2 separate regions of the Homo sapiens genome follow, and region 2 is linked to region 1. Evidence: promoter capture Hi-C in 16 types of primary human blood cells and fetal thymus (Javierre and others, 2016). All regions are on one chromosome and are shown on one strand. Each heading gives the region's core, a stretch centred on a gene start or on the middle of the fragment in contact. The rest is flanking DNA. Distances are from core to core; before and after follow the strand shown. Region 1 holds the start of ARHGEF18-AS1 (ARHGEF18 antisense RNA 1). Region 2 overlaps INSR (insulin receptor).

Evidence for each region. The method cuts DNA at HindIII sites, captures the fragments that hold promoters and counts their contacts. A CHiCAGO score of 5 or more calls a contact.
Region 2: a fragment that was not itself captured here is called in contact with the fragment with the promoter of ARHGEF18-AS1 in region 1 in 1 of 17 cell types (naive B cells); the score reaches 5.0 in naive B cells.

What each region holds. Positions count from the first base shown.
Region 1 is chr19:7,390,962-7,398,822 of GRCh38, reverse strand. ARHGEF18-AS1 (ARHGEF18 antisense RNA 1) reads left to right here and starts at 3,764. Exons shown (of 2, transcript NR_186326.1): 1 at 3,764-3,830. The region is part of intron 10 of ARHGEF18 (Rho/Rac guanine nucleotide exchange factor 18); the gene reads right to left. RefSeq lists enhancers at 1-315, 316-821, 2,897-3,076 and silencers at 833-1,033, 3,287-3,856, 3,565-4,005. The HindIII fragment of the contact is 12,223 bases long and covers 3,024-7,861 here.
Region 2 is chr19:7,162,492-7,170,352 of GRCh38, reverse strand. INSR (insulin receptor) reads left to right here. Exons shown (of 22, transcript NM_000208.4): 7 at 2,259-2,385; 8 at 3,949-4,199; 9 at 7,154-7,321. Among named protein-coding and RNA genes, the nearest start is that of ZNF557, 97 kb to the right of the region's middle. The HindIII fragment of the contact is 3,001 bases long and covers 3,237-6,237 here.

The sequences.
Region 1 (7,861 bases), core at 2,515-5,014:
GCTATGCCAGAAACAATGTATGTGCTACTTCCCCTTTCAAAGTGGGGACATTCTCAAGTCGATTTAAGCAAGAAAGAGAGAAGGAACCAAAGAATCTCTTTTCTTTCTTTCTTTATTTTTTTTTTTTTTTTTGAGACAGAGTCTAGCTCTGTTGCCCAGGCTGGAGTGCAATGGCGTGATCTCGGCTCACTGCAACCTCTGCCTTGCGGGTTCAAGCGATTCTCCTGCCTCAGCCTCCCAAGTAGCTGGGATTACAGGCGCAGGCCACCACGCCCAGCTAATTTTTGTATTTCTTAGTAGAGATGGGGTTTCACCCTGTTGGCCAGGCTGGTCTCGAACTCCTGGCCTCTCTGCCCACCTCGACCTCCCAAGGTGTTGGGATTACAGGTGTGAGCCATGGTGCCCGGTCTCTTTTCTGCTTCTCTAAGGTATGCCATTTAAAAATGAAATATGACCGGGCGTGGTGGCTCATGCATGTAATCTCAGCTCTCTTGGAGGCCAAGGAGGGGATATTACCTGAGGTCAGGAGTTCGACATCAGCCTGGCCAACATGGCGAAACCCCGCCTCTACTAAAAATACAAAAAATTAGCTGGGCGTGGTGGCACACACCTGTAATCCCAGCTACTCGGGAGGCTGAGGCGAAATTGCTTAAACTTGGGAGGCGGAGGTTGTAGTGAGCCAAGATCACACCACTGCACTCCAGCCTGGGCGCCAGAGCGAGACCGTCTCAAAAAACAAAAGGAAAAAGAAAAAGGAAACACACTTTGAAGTATATATACACAGTGGCATGATTAAATCTAGCTTAGTAACAAATGCAGCACTTCGCATAGCTCTCATTTTTGTGGTGAAAGTGCTTAACATCCGCTCCTCTTGCATTTTTCAAGAATATGTCACGTTGCACATGATAAATACATACACTGTTATCTGTCAGTTAAAAAAACAAAAACAAAAACCACAGGCTGTGGCAGCTCACGCCTGTAATCCTAGCACTTTGGGAGGCCGAGGTGGGAGGATCGCTTGAGTCCAGGACTTCAAGACCAGCCTGGGCAACATAGCGAGACCCCACAAAAAAAATTTTTTTTTTTTTTTGAGATGGAATCTCGTTCTGTTGCCCAGGCTGGAGTGCAGTGGCACGATCTCGGCTCACTGCAACCTCTACCTCCCGGGTTCACGCCATTCTCCTGCCTCAGCCTCCTGACTAGCTGGGACTACAGGCACACGCCATCATGCCCAGCTAATTTTTTGTATTTTTAGTAGAGACGGGGTTTCACCGTGTTAGCCAGGATGGTCTCAATCTCCTGACCTCGTGATCTGCCCCCCCCCGGGCCTCCCAAAGTGCTGGGATTACAGGTGTGAGCCACCGCACCCGGCCCAAAAAATTTTTAAAAATTAGCCAGACATGGAAGCGCGTGTCTGTAGTCCCAGCTACTTGGGAGTTTGTGGCAGGAGGATTATTTGAGCCCAGGAGTTCGAGGCTGTAGTGAGCTATGATTGTGCTATTGCACTCCAGTCTGGGCAACAGAGTGAGACCCTGTCTCTAAAAAGAAAAAAAAAATTTTAAGTAAAATCACATACTAATTTCAGAAGAAAACAAAAACTAAATAAGCTATACAAAACCAAAACAAAGTAACGTTTACAAAAATGAAATGTATTATGCCTGCCAGCTGTTTGCTCTTTTTTGCTCTAGAACAAACACATCTTCATTTTTTTTTTTTTTTTTTTTTCGCAAAAAGGCTTGCTGACCTACAGAAATAGGAAACTACTGATAAAGCGTAAACCCTGACTCGGTCCAAACAACATCCGAGATGCTCAAATTTTCCAAACTCTTTATAATTTGGAATGTTAACCTAAACATCCAAGCCTGGGAGCATTCGCATATGCAAAGGGTGTATAACACTGATGGAAAGTTTGCCATATGCCAGACACTTCTGTGATGCACCTTACACAGATTACTTCATAGAAACCCCAACCAACCCTTATTCCCATTTTAAAGATGGGAAGACGGAAACTTAGTGAAGTTACACGGCTAACAGGTGGTGGAACTGGGACCAGAACCCAGCTCGGATCTGACCTCAAGCCTGTGCTCCTGACACTTCTTTTTTTTTTTTTTTAGACAGTCTTGCTCTGTCGCCAGGCTGGAGTGCAGTGGCCCGATCGCGGCTCACTGCAACTTCTGCCTCCCGAGTTCAAGTGATTCCCCTGCCTCAGCCTCCAGAGTAGCTGGAACTACAGGCGCCCGCTACCATGCCCGGCTAATTTTTGTATTTTAGTAGAGATGGGGTTTCACCATGTTGGCCAGGATGGTCTCGATCTCCTGACCTCGTGATCCACCCACCTTGGCCTCCCAAAGTGCTGGGATTACAGGCTTGAGCCACCGCGCCCAGCCTCTCCTGACACCTCTTACAGCTGGAGGATTAATCATTCACTCAGACACCTGCAAAACTCATCCCTTGGCCACTGGGCTGTCTATACTGTCCTGAACTCTCTCTCTGGTCAATGGGAAGAGAATGGGGCCCTTCAAAGCTACTGGCTGGAGCTTCATCTCCGCGAAAACAAGGCAAAGGGGAAAAGGTGTGTTGGCCGCTTCGCTTCCGTGGTAAAACTTTAAGAATGTTTTTTAATCCTGTGGTCCAGGCTTTAATCTCAACAGAGCAAGAGATAAGGGGCAGATAGCCACAGCAAAACACTCAAGTGCTAGTAGAATTAACGCAGGAAAAGAAAACCAAATACTGCACTTTCCCACTTGTAAGTGGAGCTAAACCTTGGGTACTCATGGACACCAAGAAGACAACAGAAACTGGGCTCTACTAGAGCGGGAAGGGAAGGAGGAGGTCAAGGGTTGAAACTATCTATTGAGTACTATGCTCAGTACCTGGGTGACGAGATCAGTCACACCCCAAACCTCAGCATCACGCAATATATCCAGGTAACAAACCTGTACATGTACCCCCTCAATCTCAAATAAAAGTTGAAATTTAAAAACGTAAAACAAAACGAAACATGTAAGGACCAGGGGAAAGCTTCTCGTTCCCGTCCGCAATGAAAGCACCAACTGAGTTCTTATACAAGAAACTAAAACCCATGGCACAGATAGTTCTCACGGTTTTGCACCCAAACGCTCCCTGCCAGGGAGGGCTGTCTGCTCCGGGGTGTGAGGGTTCTCCCGGGAGGCCTGAAATACGACGGTGCTGGGTATTGTGGTGGGTTCCATTCCATCCCTGGTCCTGCCCCGGGCGCTCCTGAACGAGGAGCAGAGGCTGGGGCCCAAGTGACCCCTCCTCTCCTCTCCTGGAGGAGAGTAAGCCGTAGCACCCCAGGACTGGCTGGGGCTCGGACGGAGCGGGCGGGCATCGTCTGCACCTCTGCACCCTGCAATCGCCGCCTAGAGCCTCCATGCATTGAAGGAGCAGCCTGCACCCCAGCACCCGTTCGCCTGCCTGGAGAAGTCCCCCAGGAGCCGGCGGGAGGCCCGAGGCAGCCCCGGGGGTCCCGCGCCCCAGGCCACCCCCTGAAGAGACCGAGGGCCCCCTCCTGAGCCCCGTTTTCCTCGGGACCGCCCCGCCGCCGTCCTCACCTCGGCCCGATCGCCCGCAGGCCGCTCTCCGCCAGCTCCTCTGCCACTCTCGCAGCCGCCTCCGATGCCTCCGTCCGGCCCCCCCAGATCCACAGTAGCTAGCAGCTGGGAGCCGGAAGCGGGAAGCCGCGCGAGGAGAGCAGCGCATGCGCGATCCCGCCTCGGAGGCGGGGCAGAGGGCGTGACCCGGAAGGAGGCGTGCCCTCGAGGGCGGGGCGCTCCCGGGGACCTGGGGCTGCTGCTCCCCGAGCCGTGGTGAGGGGGCGTCGGCTCGGCCTTGAGAGGGGCGCGGGCACCGAAGTGGGAGGGTGCTCGCGGCGAGGGTGAGGGCGACTTTTGAGGGGCGGGTCAGCGGGGTTGGGGGGCTTTTTGAAGGAGAGCAATGCGAGCCTGGCTGTCAGTAGGGCCGGGGGCTCTGAGGGGACAGCTGGGTTGCGGGGATCCAGAGGGAGAGCAGCAGGGTTAGGTGGGCGTTTTGTGGGGTTAACGGAAGCCTGGGTGATTAGCGCGGCTGGGGAGGGAGTCCTGAGGAGGACAGCGGTTTGGAGAATCTCAAGGGGGGTACAGCACAGTTAGGGGGACCCTGAGGGAGGACAGCGGGGTTGGGGGACCCCAAGGGAGGACAGCGGGGTTGGGGGGACCCCGAGGGAGGACAGCGGAGTTGGGGGACCCCGAGGGAGGATAGCGGGGTTAAGGGGACCCCAAGGGAGGACAGTGGAGCTGGGGGTGTTTTGGAAGAATCAACGGATGCCTGGAGGGGTTGTCAGTGGGCTCCTACGGGCTCGTTAGGATTGGAAGTACCTAAGGGGGGCACTCCCAGTGGTGGGGAGTCCTAGCGGGGAGAGTCCAAGAAATGGAGAGGGCAGGGTCTGTCACCTGAGAAAAAAGAAGCAGCATCAGGGAGTGGTGGGGGGATCACTTCATCCCAGGAGTTCAGGACCACCAGTCTGGGCAACATAGCAAGACCCCATCTCTACAAAACATTTTTTAAAATGAGCAGGGCATGGAGGCGCCTGCCTGTGGTCCCAACTCCTCCAGAGGCTGAGGTGGGAGGATGACTTGAGCCTGGGAGGTCCAGGCTGCGGTGAGCTATGATCATGCCTCCAGAGGCTGAGGTGGGAGGATGACTTGAGCCTGGGAGGTCCAGGCTGCAGTGAGCTATAATCATGCCACTGCACTCCAGCCTGGACAACAGAGCAAGACTCTGTCTCAAAATAACAACAACAAAAAAAGAGGCAGCATAGACTTCAGAAAGGTGGGTCTGGGAAAAATGAATCATATACCTCTCCAGTGGTCTCAGACACCCCAACATAGATACCATCAGATCCCCTAAACACAGGCACCCAGGCAGGTGCCATCAGATACCCAAAACAGGCTTCCAGGTAACCCCCAAATATGTCAGACACTCCACATAGGTCCAGCAGATACCCCCAAACACATACTAGATAACCCCAATACAGATGCTGTCAGATACCCTCAAACAGGTGCTCAGAGTCTGAAACACATACCATACCCTCCCCTATCCACTTCCACACAGGTGCTATTTGGCAGATGTGGATAGGCCAGATGCTTCCCCCAGCACCAGCAACCTCTCAATTGCCATCAGACACCCCAGTCTTGAGGTTGCCTGTCTAATCCAAGTCCTGCCACAGGGGAGGCAGTTGAACAGTAACCAGGAGTCGAGCAGAACAGCTCTCACCAAGGTTGGCTGGTCAGCCAGGCCTAGAAGATCTCCCCATGGCCAGGCAAGACGGCTCATGCCTGTAATCCTAACACTTTGGGAGTCTGAGGAGGGAGGATCACTTGAGTCCAGGAGCTTTGAGATCAGCCTGGGAAACCTCGCATGACCCAGTCTCTATTTTAGAAAAAAAGATTTCCCCAAACCCAATCACTTCAAAACATGCACAATATGTTGTTGAGAGTCCCCAGTTCAGAAGCTGGAGGGTTGCGTCCCCAGGTGGACTAGCCTTCAGTTCAAGTCCAACCTTCATGGTCCAGAGGAAGGGAGCATGTTCAGGGAATTGGATGTCCCAGAAATGCAAGACGTAATTCACCAGGCACCCTACTGCAGCTGAGGTCAGAAACTCTAACACGGGAGTTTATGAGGGCTCAATGGTTGGGCAGCTGTGTAGCTGTGGCTTATGGACTTAGGGGCATGAACCTTATTTTTTTTCCTTTTTTTTTTTTTTTTTTTTTTTTTGAGACAGGATCTCACTCTGTCACTTAGGCTGGAAGTGCAGTGGCACAATCATAGCTCATTGCAGCTTCCATCTCCTGGGCTCAAGTTGTCCTCCCACCTCAGCCTCCCAAGTAGCTGGGACCACAGGCACACACCACCACGTCTGGCTAATTTTTTTGTAGAGACAGAGTTTCGCCATGTTGCCTAGATTGGTCTCGAACTCCTGAGCTCAAGTGATCTGCCCGCCTGGGCCTCCTATGATGCCAGGATTGTAGGTGTGAGCCATCATGCCCGGCCTTTGAACCTTATTTCTTTCTTTCTCTTTTTCTTTCTTTTTTTTTTTTTTTCTTTCTTGAGACAGAGTCTCACTCTGTCACCCAGGCTGCAGTGTAGTGGTACCATCTAGGCTCACTGCAGCCTCCACCTCCTGGGTTCAAGTGATCCTCCTGCCTCAGCCTCCCGAGTGCTGGAATTACAGGTATGCACCACCAAGCCTGGCTAATTTTTGTGTTTTTTTTTTGTTTTTTTTTCAGTAGAGTCAGGGTTTCACCATGTTGGCCAGACTGGTCTTGAACTCCTGACCTCAAGTGATCCTCCCACCCTGGCCTCCCAAAGTGCTGGGATTACAGGCGTGAGCCACTGGGTCTGGCCATCAGCCTTATTTCTATAGCTATCTTGGTTATAGGAAACTTCAGGTGGACACAGCCCTCCCCTAAACATAGAAACCAACTTTCTCAGAGACAACTAGGAAGGAGAAACATCTCCCATCTTTCTTTTATCCATCCAACCATTCTGCATTTATGAGTCTTTTTTTTTTTTTTTTTTTTTGAGACGGAGTCTCACTCTGTTGCCCAAGCTGGAGTGCAGTGGTGCCATCTTGGCTCACTGCAAACTCCACCTCCCAGATTGAAGCAATTCTCCTGCCTCAGCCTCCCGAGTAGCTGGGATTGCAGGCACCCGCCACTACATCTGGCTAATTTTTGTATTTTTTGTAGAGATGGGGTTTTACCATGTTGGCCAGGCTGGTCTTGAACTCCTGACCTTAGGTGATCTGCCTGCCTCAGCCTCCCAAAGTGCTGGGATTACAGGCGTGAGCCACCACACCTGGCCTCATTTATGAGTCTTTAGCATGGACCAGGGGCGCTAGGAGCTAAGGAGATGCAAGGAGCTTAGGCCCAGAGCAGGGTTTTCTCAGCTTGGCACTTTCGACAATTAGGGCTGGATAATTCTCGGTGGTGGTGGCAGGGGTGGTCTCCTATGCACTGGAGGGTGTTGAGCGGCATCCCTGGTCTCTACCTCCTAGATGCCAGTGGCTCCCCTGGTCCTGAAAAAAATGCCTCCAGATGTTTCCTTGGCTGAGAGCAACTGGCCTAAGAGACATTCAGACACTTATCCAGCCTAATTCCGACTTCCTGGAGGAAGTGGGCCTGGGCTTTGTCTTAAAAGGATGAGTAAGAGTTAGGTGGGAGAGGGAGTTCCAGGAACAGCGCTGGATGAGCAAGGCACAGCGTATGTGTATGACGTGTATGAACAGCCATGAGACTTCAGGGTGACTGGGCCGTGGAGTCCGGAGAACCTGAGTAGTGGGAGAGAAGCGTGGAGGGATAGGTGGGGTTGAATTATAAACAGCCTCAAAGGTCAAGGCCAGGAACAGGACTGTCTGGCGTGGTGTCTGTTCTCTGAAAAGCATCCCAACTTTATCGTGGAGACCCACCTTCTCTAATTACCTGGAGTATGACTCATTCTCTGTTCTGTTTGTTTAACTTACTGTGAGGCTGTTTCCTCCGTCTGTCCCACGGACGGGAGGAAACGGGACAGACTGTCACGTTGACTTTGAATACCTTTAAAAGCAGGTAGGCCTGTGGGGAGTTATACCTTGGGAGGACTTTTCTCAGCCTGCTGGGAATGAGACATGGGTGTTTTGGCCCCTTCATGCCTCCTGACACAGGTGGGGAGGGGTTTGTTGTCAGAGAACAGGGTTAGGGTCTGTGATTTATTTTTTTATTTTTATTTTATTTATTTATTTTTTTGAGACAGAGTCTCACTCTGTCAACGGGCTGGAGTGCAGTGGTGTGATCTCAGCTCACTGCAACCTCTGCTTCCCGGG
Region 2 (7,861 bases), core at 3,488-5,987, 230 kb after region 1:
CATGTAGAATCAATGGGAACCCTGAGCTTGTGTTCCTGCAACTAGATGGTCCCAGCTGGGGGTGATGGGAGACAGTGACAGATCATCAGGCATTAGATTTTCATAAGGAGTGTGCAGTCTAGGTACCTCATGTACACAGTTCACAATAGGGTTCACACCCCTGTGAGAATCTAATGCCGCCGCTAATCTGACAGGAGGCAGAACTCAGGTGGTCATGCAAGCGATGGGGAGTGACTGTAAATACAGATGAAGCTTCACTTGCTCACCTATCACTCACCTCCTGCTGTACAGCCCTGTTCGTAACAGGCCATGGATAAGTACTGGTCTGTGGCCCAGGGGCTGGGGACCCCTGCTGTAAGTGGTCCACAAACCAGATAATGTGGCTGTCCTCTCTCATCCATCACAGTCACCCCCAGGGGGTATTACTTCCCTCTAACAACTCACTGTGTGATAGGCTTTCTTACTGAGGGCAGATTCTGCACATTTATTAATATTATCACTATGCTTACTGTGCCATATAGTACCGGATACGGGATGAAGTCATACAAGCACTGAATGAATGGATGAATGAATGATGGATGAATGGATGACACCTTCTTATATGTGTATCAGGCTGATGCTGAAGACTTCAAAGTTGAGTAAAATACCTATGTCAGTCTGCATCTCCTGGGAAGTGACTGCCAAGTTGAAGTTAGGAGTGCAGAAAATGTATTGAGGGTAATATTCATAAAATATGAAACAGAGGAAGAGCTTCTTTTTTTTTTTTTTTTTTTTTTGGGACAGAGTCTTGCTCTGTCACCCAGGGCTGGAGTGCAGTGGCGTGATCTTGCCTCACTGCAACCTCCTTCCCCTGGGTTCAGGTAATTATCTCGCCTCAGCCTCCAGAATAGCTGGGATTACAGGCACATGCCACCAAGCCCGGCTAATTTTTTTTTTTGTATTTTTAGTAGAGACAGGGTTTTGCCATGTTGGCCAGGGTGGTCTTGAACTCCTGACCTCAGGTGATCCTCCCGCCTCGGCCTCCCAAAGTGCTGAGATTACAGGTGTGAGTCACCACGCTCAGCCATGAAGAGCCTTTTGACAATAGCGTGTGTCTGACCTCTGTGAACAGAGAGCGGGAAGGAGGGAGGATAGGGCTGGGAGAGTCTCAGATGGTGATGCATCCCTGAGTCTTGGCCAAACCCAGAAAGAGATCAAGGCCACGGTTGTCTGCAGGGAAGTTCTGCATTGCAAAGGGACGGCCAGGCATCTACCAAGCTCAGTCATAGGTGGGGGCTGTCCAGGGAGAGTCAGGTTTTGGCTGGAATGCTACAGCAGGTCCTGCAGTTTCTGCAGCTGCAGGCTGCCTGCTGACTGCACTTCCCTGACAGATTCTAAACAGTGAGCTGCCAAGGGCTTCTGGGATACCTTCATGGGGAGTTAGTTACTTATGTCAAAATGTAGTGCAAGGGCTGGGCATGGTGGCTCACGCCTGGAATCCCAGCACTCTGGGAGGCCGAGGCAGGCAGATCACTTGAGGTCAGGAGTTCGAGACCAGCCTGGCCAATGTGGTGAAACTCCATCTCTACTAAAAAAAAAAAATACAAAAACTAGCTGGACGTGGTGGTGGGTGCCTGTAATCCCAGCTACTTGAGAGGCTGAGGCATGAGAATTGCTTAAACCCGGTAGGTGGACTGCACTCCAGCCTTGGTGACAGAGCAAGACTGTCTCAAAAAAAATGTAGTGCAAGGAGAGAGAGCGAGGTTGGGGTGAGGTTTAGGAGAGGGTTTGTCTTCTAGGCAGAGAGAATTACTTAGATGCGTCTCTCCGATGTCTAATGATCTGCAGGGTCTCTAAACTCACTTGGCATAGGTTTATTTGCACTGGAGTTGCACCTCCTTCCAGGTCAGTCTTACAAGTCCATATGCGAGACAACGTTGTGTCAGGACAAACATCACCCTTGGAAATCCCTTCCTCCAATAACTATTGGCCGGTTGTCCTTCTTGCGCGGGTACAGACTGCGCTTATTCAGTTGACTGTCTGGCTGAGTCAAGTCATTGGCTTACGTGAGTGTGAGTGGCCAAGTTGCAAAACTGGCTCTTACCTTTGAATCTTCCCCCATTCATACTCAGCCAGGCACATGGGGAGGAGACCCTTAAGGGAATAGCAGCGTCACCTCTGCCTTCTCACGGTCCCTCCAGGAAGTGTGGGGGTCCCAGGCTTTGGTCTGAAACTACACTGAAATAGCTCATTTTTGCCTTTTGTTTTAACTTTTCCAGGTGAAAATGAGTTACTTAAATTTTCTTACATTCGGACATCTTTTGACAAGATCTTGCTGAGATGGGAGCCGTACTGGCCCCCCGACTTCCGAGACCTCTTGGGGTTCATGCTGTTCTACAAAGAGGCGTAAGTAGAAGAGTTAGAGAGACGCTGAGGAGGCGAGGGCTGGCTGGCTCTGTGCTTGCTACGTTTGTGCTCCAATCTGCCCCTCTTGGGTTCCTGTCTATCTCCCTCCTCCTCCTGGAATAAATATCTTAGGTTCCTTTTTACAATCTCACCAGTCGATGGCATGCAAAGTCAATAGTGTCTGCTTTTATCAAATGCCTAAAATGGAAGCAGACAGCTTTCCCATAGAAGCCCGGACTGGCCAGTTTCCTGGGGCAATATTCTATTTTGCCTTGCCTGTGTATGTCTCATCAGACATCCTTAGTAGTCAGGAGCTCAGTCTACTAAGTGGATGTTATCAAATGTATTGCTTATCTATTTTTCTTTTTTATCCCCAATTTTTTTTTTTTTTTTGAGACAGAGTCTTGCTCTGTTGCCCAGGGTACAGTGCAGTGGCAGATCTTGGCTCACTGCAACCTCTGCCTCCCGGGTTCAAGCAGTTCTCCTGCCTCAGTCTCTTGAGTAGCTGAGATTATGGGCATACACCATCACACGTAGCTAATTTGTGTATTTTTGATAGAGACGGGTTTTGCCATGTTGGCCAGGCTGGTCTCAAACTCCTGACCTCAGGTGATCTGCCCACCTTGGCCTCCCAAAGTGCTGGGATTACAGGCATGAGCCACCGCACCTGACCAGTAGTAATATTAATAATAGTTCTAGCCCTCAAGATTTACCTTGTGCCTTGCTGAGCACTGACACACAGTCTAATCTTATCAGTAACTTGTGAGGGAGCTCCTGCTATTACTATTATTACAGATTGAGTATCCCTAATCTGAAAATCTGAAATTTATAATGCTCCAAAATCCAAAGCTTTTTGTGGGCCGACTTGATACTCAAAGGAGATGCTTATTGGAGCATTTCAGATTTCAGATTTTTAGATTAGAGATGCTGAACCAGTACAATGCAAATTAACTAGTAAAATGCAAATATTTCAAAACCCCAAAATATCCAAAATCCAAAACACTTCTGGTCCCAAGCATTTATTTATTTATTTATTTATTTATGTTTTTGAAACAGAGTCTCCCTTTGTCGCCCAGGCTGGAGTGCAGTGGTGCGATCTCAGCTGATGCTACCTCTGCCTCCCGGGTTCAAGCAATTCTCCTGCCTCAACCTCCTGAATAGCTGGGATTACAAGCATCTGCCACCATGCCCAGATAATTTTTGTATTTTTAGTAGAGACGGGGTTTCACCATGTTGGCCAGGCTGGTCTCGAACTCCTGACTTCTGGTGATCCGCCATTCTCGGCCTCCCAAAGTGCTGGGATTACAGGCGTGAGCCACTGCACTTGGCCAAGTCTCAAGTGTTTTGAATAAGGGATGCCCAAGCTGTGTTTTTTCATTGAGATGTCAGGGTTGACAGTTCCTTTCTCTTTGGCTGTTCCCGAGTTATTTTTTCTTGTGGCATTAGATTGTTGGGTGAGTAACATGTGACCCTATGGGATGTAACTTCCCAGGCCTCATCTGCACGGCACTCAGTGTGACGGTCTTGTAAGGGTAACTGCCTTCTGCTGTTTTGTCTTGAAAGCCCTTATCAGAATGTGACGGAGTTCGACGGGCAGGATGCGTGTGGTTCCAACAGTTGGACGGTGGTAGACATTGACCCACCCCTGAGGTCCAACGACCCCAAATCACAGAACCACCCAGGGTGGCTGATGCGGGGTCTCAAGCCCTGGACCCAGTATGCCATCTTTGTGAAGACCCTGGTCACCTTTTCGGATGAACGCCGGACCTATGGGGCCAAGAGTGACATCATTTATGTCCAGACAGATGCCACCAGTGAGTGTGTCTTGGGAATGTGAATTCGTATGTGAATCAGACCTCTTGCTTTTAATAGGCTGATGCAGTGAGGTTGTATAAAATGCTCCTTGATATGGTTATTGGCTTTTTTTTTTTTTTTAGACAGGGTCTTACTTTGTCACCCAGGCTAGAGTGCAATGCAGTGGGGTGATCATGGCTCACTGCAGCCTCAAACTCCTGGGCTCAAGCAATCCTTCTGCCTCAGCCTCCTAAGTAGAAGGAACTACCAGAGTATACCACCATGTGTGGCTTTTTTTTTTTTTTTTCTTTGAGATGAAGTCTCACTCTGTCACCCGGACTGGAGTGCAATGGCATGATCTCGGCTCACTGCAACCTCCGCCTCCCAGGTTCAAGTAATTCTCCCACCTCAGCCTCCTGAGTAGCTGGGACTACAGGCATGCACCACTATACCCAGCTAATTTTTGTATTTCTTGTAGAGACAGAACGTTGCTGTGTTACCCAGGCTGGTCTTGAACCCCTGGCCTCAAGTGATCCTCCTGCCTCGGCCTCCCAAAGTCCTGGGATTAGAAGTGTGAGCCACCTTGCCCAGTCAGTTATTGGCTTTTAAAGGAGCTGGGTATTGAGGCTTATAGTTTCAGACGAGGCAGTAGCAACAAGCCACTTGATGGGAATATTTATATTTTTCATCCTATTATGAAAAATTGTCAAATATTCACAACACAGAACAAAACCCCATAGTTAGCCGCCTCCCAGCTTCAGCCTTTGGTCATTTTTGTTTCATCTCGACGCCTGTTCCCTCTTCCCACTTGTTACTTCTTTTTGTTTTGTTGTTTGTTTTGGCCTGGAGTATTTCACAGCAATTTAATTATGTTTGTTTGTTTGAGATGGAGTCTCACTCTGTCACCCAGGCTGGAGTGCAGTGGCGCCATCTGGACTCACTGCAACCTCCACCTCCCAGGTTCAAGTGATTCTCCTGCCTCAGCCTCCCAAGTTGCTGGGATTACAGCACACTTGGCTAATTTTTGTTTTGTTTTGTTTTGTTTTTTGAGACAGAGTCTCACTCTGTCACTGAGGCTGGAGTGCAGTGGTGTGATCTCAGCTCACTGTAACCTCCCCGTCCCAGTTCAAGTGATTCTCCTGCCTCAGTCTCCCAAGTAGCTGCAACTACAGGCGTGCCACCACGCCCAGCTAATTTTTGTATTTTTAGTAGAGATGGGATTTCACCATGTTGGCCAGGATGGTCTCAATCTCTTGACCTGCAATCTGCCCACCTTGGCCTCCCAAAGTGCTGGGATTACAGGCATAAGCCACCATGCCAGCCTTTTTTTTTTTTTTTTTTTTTTTTGAGATGGAGTTTCGCTCTTGTTGCCTAGGCTGGAGTGCAATGGCCCTATCTCAGCTCACTGCAACCTCTGCCTCCCGGGTTCAAGCGATTCTCCTGCCTCAGCCTCCCGAGTAACTGGGATTACATGCATGCACCACCACGATTGGCGAATTTTTTTTTTTTTTTTTTTTTTGTAGAGACAAGGTTTCTCCATGTTGGTCAGGCTGGTCTCGAACTCCGAGCCTCAGGTGATCCGCCTGCCTCGGCTTCCCAAAGTGCTGGGATTACAGGCATGAGCCACCGCGCCCAGCCATTTTTGTATTTTTAATAGAGATGGGGCTTCACCATGTTGGCCAGGCTGCTCTGGAACTCCTGACCTCAAATGATCCGCCCACCTTGGCCTCCCAAAGTGCTGGGATTACAGGCATGAGCCACTGGGCCCGGCCTAATTATATTTTTGTAAAACCTAAGTGCTTCTCTTATAGCAGTAGTTCCCAAAGGAGGTTAACTGCTCTGCCAGGGAACAGCTGCCAATCAATGTCTGGAGACATTTTTGGTTGTTACAGCTGTGGAGATGAAACCACTGGCATTTCGTGGGCGGAAGCCAGAGAGGCTGTTCCATGTCCTGCAACACACAGGATGCACCCTCCTTCATGACAAAGAATTATCCAGTCCTAAAAGCCAATAGTACTAAGGGTGAGAAACCCCGTCCTGTAGGCTCAAATTCAAGCTTTTTTTTTTTTTTTTTTTTTTTTAACGGAGTTTCACTCTTGTCTCTCAGGCTGGAGTTCAATGGCGCATTCTCAGCTCACTGCAACCTCTGCCCAGGTTCAAGATTCTCCTGCCTCAGCCTCCCAGGAAGCTGAGATTACAGGCGCCCACCACCATGTCCAGCTAATTTTTTTTTTTTTTTTTTTTTTTTAGTAGAGATAGGGTTTCACCATGTTGGCCAGGTGTAGTCTCGAACTCCTGATCTCAGGTGATTCAGATGATTCGCCCACCTCGGCCTTCTAAAGTGCTGGGATTACAGGCATGAGCCACTGTGCCTGGCCTCGAATTCAAACTTTATAAATCAACCCTATCTTCTTCAGTTAATCCCCGCTCATTCATCCTGTATCTTTTAGTGACACCAAAAGACTTACAGTTTTCAGAAACTTCTAGCTCCCAGGTGTTTGGACTCCCTCCCCATCCCCAGCTCCCTCGGCCACCTCCGTTACTTTGGGTTTTTTGGGTTTTGTTTGGTTGGTTGGTGGTGGTTTTTTTTTTCTTTTTTGTTTTGTTTTGTTTTGAGACGGACTCTTGCTCTGTCACCCAGGCTGGAGTGCAGTGGCGCAATCTCGGCTCACTGCAAGCTCCGCCTCCCAGGTTCACGCCATTCTCCTGCCTCAGCCTCCCAAGTAGCTGGGACTACAGGCGCCCACCACCACACCTGGCTAATTTTTTGTATTTTTAGTAGAGACGGGGTTTCACTGTGTTAACCAGGATGGTCTCGATCTCCTGACCTCGTGATCCGCCTGCCTTGGCCGCCCAAAATGCTGGGATGGGTGCCCTCATGATGTCTTTAACTTGTGTGTCCCCCGCCATCCTCCCACCAGCTTTCTTTGCACACTGTTTCTCATGATGGACCCATTTCCTTTCTCCCTGACAGACCCCTCTGTGCCCCTGGATCCAATCTCAGTGTCTAACTCATCATCCCAGATTATTCTGAAGTGGAAACCACCCTCCGACCCCAATGGCAACATCACCCACTACCTGGTTTTCTGGGAGAGGCAGGCGGAAGACAGTGAGCTGTTCGAGCTGGATTATTGCCTCAAAGGTGAGTGCAGGCAGCTGTGCTAGGATCGGTGGGGTTTGCACACGTGTGTCTGATGCACTTTGCTTCACCTCTAGGGAAGCAGCTATCTCTTCCTGTGTCTCAGTGTCGGAAGGCACACACACACACACTCCATTCTATCTCATATGAAAACACACATACATGTTTTTATCTATTTATTTATTTATTTTATTTTTTATTTATTTACTTTTTTGAGATGGAGTTTCACTCTTGTTGCCCAGGCTGGAGTGCAATGACGCGACCTTGGCTCATCGCAACCTCCACCTCTCGGGTTCAAGTGATTCTCCTGCATCAGCCTCCCGAGTAGCTGGGATTACAGGCACGCGCCACCACGCCCGGCTAATTTGGTATTTTTAGTAGGGACGGGGTTTCTCCATGTTGGTCAGCCTGGTCTCAAACTCCCGACCTCAGGTGACCTCAGGTGATCCACCCACCTTGGCCTCCCAAAGTGCTGGGATTACAGGCATGAGCCACCACACCCGGCCTATTTTTTTTTTTTTTTTGAGACAGGGTCTTACTCTG